Linked DNA regions of Homo sapiens: region 2 is linked to region 1. Evidence: promoter capture Hi-C in 16 types of primary human blood cells and fetal thymus (Javierre and others, 2016). All regions are on one chromosome and are shown on one strand. The core of a region is centred on a gene start or on the middle of the fragment in contact, and the rest is flanking DNA. Distances in the headings are between cores, read along the strand shown. Region 1 holds the start of UBE2B (ubiquitin conjugating enzyme E2 B). Region 2 has its middle 41 kb from the start of SAR1B.

Region 1 (3,047 bases), core at 386-2,885:
TAGGACTGCAATGGCAGAAAGGCAAAAAAATTAAGAATATTCAGCTTTTAACTTAAAAAACACATTGCGAATGTCTAACAGGACCTATCAAGAGTTAGGCCTGGCTAACCTGATCACCAAGGCAGTCACTGGAAGCAGAGAGGGAATTCAGGGTTTGAAGAAAGAGGTACAAGGAAAGTCAGAAAAGTTAACTCTGCTTCCATGGAATCAGGGGCAAGGCTGAGGCAATGTTAAGGTCCTCATTCCACCCTCCCTTTACCTGTTGAACTGAACAGTTCCCCAAATGGATACAAAAGTACTCAGAGTCCTTAGTATAACAAAGTCCTGAAGGTAGGAATTGGAAGCAATAGAGGGAAGGACGGTGACCACAGAAAATATTCAAGGTCTTTGGGAGGTCAACACCTCTGAACCCCCTGGTGGTGGGGGGCCCTTCTGGCCCATTTGCACCTTTCTTGCTAGTGTAGAAAACCTGAAGTTATCTCAGGCTAGATATATAACCCTCACTCATGTCTGCCGGAGCTCTCCCCCAGAATATGAATCATATTTGTAGGTTTCTTTGACAACCAACCACTCATTGATATGCTTGGAAGACTGCACCCCCACATTCCTTAAAAATACAATGGTACTCCCCCACCATAGGCAAGTCCCCGGACTCTGACACATATCTTCAATTGAAAGCAGACCCAGAAAGGAAAAACTGCATAATACACCATCCTTTAATATTTGCCCAGAATTTCCAATACTAGAAACCCCACTGCAAAGCAGAAAGACTATCTGGTAGCTTCAAGGAACCATTTCAGGAGATTGTTGTGTGGGCCTCAGTATTCAAGGCTGCCTTAGAAGATCGTGCGATCCTCTCACTCTTCTTGCCCCAAGTACCAGAGTTAATAAGCCACTGAACCAACCAGAGGGGAATTATTTTTGGTCCCGGTTTAAAGAAAACAAAACAAGCTGTTGATTCTGCCATGACCTCTTGGGTAATGTTGTCTCTATACCTGTGATAAACAGAAAACAACTAATAAAGGTTTATCCCGCCCTCACCCTCTTAAACCCGCTTCACAGACCTGGCTGAAACTCACATCCAGGCGAGGCGCTCACGTGACCCGTTCTAAACGCGTCATAGGGACACGTGGTTCTAGATACTTCTCCCCCTCCCACTCAGGGGTGGATTGTTGACAAGGCCGCGGGCAGTCACGTGATCTTACATCATCCCACCTCCTTTCCCTGAAATCTCTGGCCCGGATGCGTCCCTCTTTCTCCACCCCGCCGAGCCTAAACTAGTGACGGGGAGGGAGACGGGATAGTGTTTCTGTTTCGTGGTCTTTGAATCCACAACCTCTAGTCTGAACACAGAGAACACAAATTTGTCTATTACTTCAGGAAGCCCAGGGGGAACCGCGCCCCGCTGAAGGGCTCGGGGAAGGCGCGCTCCCGCGTCCCGCCCCCTCCTCCCCCAGCACTCACACTGTGGTAGCGGCGGAGGGCGGAGGGATCCGGAGGCGGCGGAGGGAGACGTCATTGCAGGGTTGTTTGTCAGTCTCGGCGGCGGCGGCGGCGGCGGCGGCGGCGGCGATCCACAGTGATTCGGCCGCCGCGCCGGGGGGTGGGGGGGCTGCGCGGGACTTTTTTTTTTTCAGACTGACCGCGGGGCAGCTGCGGAGCATGTCGACCCCGGCCCGGAGGAGGCTCATGCGGGATTTCAAGCGGTAAGGGCCTTCACCTTCGCCTAGATGACGGCCCCTCAAAGCTGCGGGGCTGCAGGGCGTGGATCCCAGACACCTTCCCCTTTGTGACCCTCAGAGGGCCGGCTGTGGGCCCAGCGGGACTGGCGGAAGCCGGGTCCTAGCCTCGGCCCTACTCCCATAAGCTTTGCCGCTCGTTCTGGCGCCCGAAGAAATTTTGATACTGCTTCCCCTCCCCACAAAAAGTAAAACGGTGTCGATCGACTGGTCTAGGGTTCCCTGCTGCCCATTTCGGCCAGCTGCCCGGCGTCTCGCCCAGGCGATCAGACATTATCCGCCCGCCCCTGCACCCTGCGGCGCCCCCTTCTTGTCCCCTCAAAGTGAGCTCCTGCGGGAGCTTGTTCCTCTCCGGCAGCACCAGTCAGCTTTGTTTCACGGCCCCGCCGTCTTCTCCGAGGAGCCGTGTTGGGGCGAACCCCTCTCCCGACTCCTGCCAATCCTTTCCATTTGTGCCCTGAGGGTGGGGTCCAGTGCGTGAGGCCCGGAGGTTAACCCATCCCCCGAAACCCGACTCTGTCCCCGCCCGCCTGAAAGGACCTTGGGAACTGACTTAGAGATCTGGGACCTTAGAGCTGGCCACCCCGGCTGCCAGTGCTTTCTGGAACTCAGCTCTGGCTGGTGAAGAAAGCCCCTATCTATAGCCTCCCGAGTCTGGAAAAATGCCTTCCCTTAGACTGGCGCTAATCTGATACTCCCTGGGCCTCCTTTGGTAAATAAAATAGGGTTTTGTTAGGAGGTATTGGGGTTGTGAGATAGAAAATGATTATTCCGTTGTTTACCTTTTATTGGATACTTAGAGACATAGAAAAAATAAGTGAGAAAACATCATTTTGATACTCTGCACATTTTTCTTAACATTTTTTCTGGGGACACCTGCCCTAATTGAACAAAATATCTAGCATAAAAACTTAGATTTGTCGCTCAGGAAGTCACCTCTCAGCTATTATAAAGCCTATGTGAGGCACTTGGATTTGGCCAACTTATTTAATTCATTCGTAGCTTCTCTTAGCCATTTAAAGGTAGGCGTCAAGCAGTGCAGTTCTTCTAAGGCTTCTGTTCGTGGTGGCCTAATTTGCTTGAGATTGACTAAAAACCATTTTTTTAATGTGGACTAGTTGCAAATTATGATGCCCCATGAAAAACAACTGCATATGTATTTGTGTGTGTATATAATGTAGCATTTTTAATTGAGGTTACAGTCTCTGAAAGGAGATGCCCTTTTTGGTGCAAAAGTCATCTTTCTAAAGCTTGAAATCAGCGTATTTGATTAGCACTCATGACAAATTCAGATAGTAAACTAGTTCA
Region 2 (3,047 bases), core at 284-2,783, 220 kb after region 1:
TTGGGGGATATCTGTGACCTCTGAAGTCCATCTCCTGTGGGGAGGGGCTGTGGTCAGAGGGCAAGGGAAAGCTTTCCAGTGTTACCGGATGGAAGGTCTTGACTGTGAGTTGTCCAGGTTCTTACGCACTGAACGAAGAATTGAACAAAACACACAAAGAAACAAAAGAACAAAGCAACGAAAGAAGCAATGAAGGTGATTTACTGAAGTGGAAGTACACTCCACAGAGTGGGAGCAGGCTCGAGCAAGCAGCTCCAGAGCCCCATTGCAATGTTCTTTAGGGTTCTTATTAAACTAAAAGAATTTGGTGGCTGGTGGATTAGAGCTCACGCCTGTAATCCCAGCACTTTGGGAGACCCAGGCGGGTGGATCACTTGAGGCCAGGAGTTCGAGACCAGCCTGGCCAACATGGTAAAACCCAGTCTCTACTAAAAAAAAAAAAAAGAGAGAGAGAAAGAAAGAAAGAAAAAATTAGTTGAGCATGGTGGTGTGCCTGTGGTCCCAGTTACTCTGGAGGCTGAGATGGGAGGATTGCTTGAACCCAGGAGGCAGAGTTTGCAGTGAGTGGAGATCAAGCCACTGCAATCCAGCCTGGGTGATAGGACAAGATTCTGTCTCAAAAACAAAAAAAGAATTTGGTAACACTCCTAGGTACCCTTTAAAGGCCTCCAGTTGGTTATACCCTATGACAGATTGGCCAGCAACTAATCAGAGGCTGAAGTGGATACTTGGCCCGTGGTCAATCAGAGGCTGAAGTGGAAATTTCTGTCTTGTTATCACAGGAGTGAGGATGTGGCCTGTATGCTGCCTAATCTTGCCTAGAAGTGGCTGCACCTGCTGTTCTTTTGCTTATGCCTTGATCCTTGGTGACCCTAATTCCCTATTCTCCTATCTCACCAGGGCCCTTTAACTTGAGGCCAGCTGGGTGAGGTGGGGCTAGCTGGCAGATGGGGCTGGGTGAGCCTCCATACACAACTTGGGCAGAGGAGAGAAGGAAGAAGCTTTATCCACTCAGCTTGTCACCTTTGCACCATCAGAACACCATTGTGGCGGCTGACTCATCTGTCACCAGGTGAGTGTGCCATTAGGAGCACAGGATTAGTCATGGGCGTGGTCATGGGGTGAGATGCCAGGTCGGGCTGGGATAGTGACACGGTGAAGCATGGAGCAGGGCCTAGAGGCACTGGAAGAGAAGAGGAGGCATCCCTCCTCAGGCTTGGAAGGGGGCCTAGGCCTCCCTGATAGGGATGGAGGCCTCTGTCTTTGGGATAATGCTCAAGTGGGTTGCCTCGGGTCTAGAGGTTTGTATTTAGTGGGTGGTCCCCCTTATTCTTCCCTCCATTCTCAAACTCCTGACTTTAGGTGATCCGCCCACCTCAGCCTCCCAAAGTGCTGGGATTACAGGCATGAGCCACTGCTCCCGGCCACTTCCCTCCATTCTCAATGAACATTAAGCAACATGTGGCCATTCAAGTCTAGAGAATTTATCCATGAATCCACCACGAAAGAGGAAGCTGCTAGAAATGGAATTTTGTTGTCCTTGGGGTAATGGAAAATTATTGACCTGCATTCTGGCCCTTAGTTTCCTCATTTGTTAATAAGGATGAGAGCTCCTGCTGGGCCCACCATGCAGGGTGGCTGAGAGGCTCAAAGAGGACATGGGTATGAAGTGGACAAAATGAGGAGCCACAAAAGGTGTTAGAGGAGGGCAGGACACAGTGGTACAGGAGAGCACTCACAGACTTGCTGACTGACCAGAGGCAAGGAGGCCAGAGGGATTTGTTTACCAACTCTCACTTCCCGGATTCTGAGCCGGTAAACCCTGTTTGTTTACAAGTTTTCACGGGCCTCCCTAAGCCCAACGGTGGTCTGGGGTCAGTTCCACTCTAGGGACTGGCCCGGTGCAGCCCCTAGATGGGGGCTGGTTGCAAACAGCTGATGGTCAGAGAAGCCGCTTCAGTCACATATCTGACAGTCAGCTGCCTGGGCCAAAAAACCACACAGCTCCCCAGCCTTGTGGGTTACTCAGGCCCCTTGTCAGCTCTGTGATCATCCTTCACACCTGAAAGCTTGTAACCCGAGAGGCTAGAGGTAGTTGAATAGGACATCCCTCCTGTGCCCTCACCTCACCCCTTTTGCAAAAAAGGAACATTCCATTGCTAGGGATTGAATGTTGTGATTAACATGAAACTCAGAAGAACAGCCAAGGGTTTGTAGAAGCCAAGGAGGAAAAGTGACTCAGCAAAATAAACTTTCACCTGTGGGTACTCTGAACTGCTATTTTGGGACTCTGGGAGCCTGCCTGGTTCTAGTGCCTGTTGCTTGGTATCAAAGCATTGCTCCCTAAATGCCAGCTGGAATATTCATGCCCATTCCTTACTGAAGTAGCATCCTAGGAGGCTTGGGAGGGAGGTCTGATGGATGGGCCTTATCTCTGCCACATCCAGGTAAGAGTCACAAGTGAAGCCTGGGCAACCTGGCAAAACCCCATCTCCACAAAAAGATACAAAATTAGCTGGGTGTGGTGGTGGGCATCTGTAGTCCCAGCTACTCAGGAAGCTGAGGTGGGAGGATAGTCTGAGTCCAGGAGGCTGCAGTGAGCTGTGATCATACCACTGTACCCCAGCCTGGGTGGCAGAGTGAGACCCTGTCCCAAAAAAAAAGAGTCTCAAGTGAGCCAATGTCACAGGAGAAGTAGACATGCCCCCGTAGAGGCATCGGGGATCAGAGGGGACTCTCAAGAAGAGAGTAAATCTTAGGGATTCCTCTCCCCTCCAGGAATACTTCCATCCAGTCAAGAAAGGGCATGGGATTGGCACTAACTTGCCCCGTCAATTTTAACTCCTTCATGGCCCTCATCTGAAAAGCCTCATGTGGTTTGTAGGACCTCTGAGTTTGGGGAGAGTGTGAGAGCTCATTTCATCCAATCACTATCCCATGGAGTTCCCCTCTCTAGGAGAGACTGTTTGAATTCCAACAACAGCCCATCATTTGAAAGGCAACCCACAGCTGTGTTAAAAAGGTCTCTCTTAAATTCAATTGTAATG

Evidence for each region. The method cuts DNA at HindIII sites, captures the fragments that hold promoters and counts their contacts. A CHiCAGO score of 5 or more calls a contact.
Region 2: a fragment that was not itself captured here is called in contact with the fragment with the promoter of UBE2B in region 1 in 1 of 17 cell types (endothelial precursors); the score reaches 5.3 in endothelial precursors.

Annotation. Positions count from the first base shown.
Region 1 is chr5:134,369,934-134,372,980 of GRCh38, forward strand. It overlaps UBE2B (ubiquitin conjugating enzyme E2 B), which reads left to right and starts at 1,636. Exons shown (of 6, transcript NM_003337.4): 1 at 1,636-1,706. The coding sequence starts at 1,663. It also overlaps a transcript of CDKL3 not described here. RefSeq lists enhancers at 755-1,350, 859-928, 1,869-1,968 and a silencer at 1,399-1,448. The HindIII fragment of the contact is 3,578 bases long and covers 1-1,865 here.
Region 2 is chr5:134,590,398-134,593,444 of GRCh38, forward strand. No RefSeq gene overlaps it. Among named protein-coding and RNA genes, the nearest start is that of SAR1B, 41 kb to the right of the region's middle. RefSeq lists enhancers at 1,142-1,201, 2,022-2,615. The HindIII fragment of the contact is 1,068 bases long and covers 1,000-2,067 here.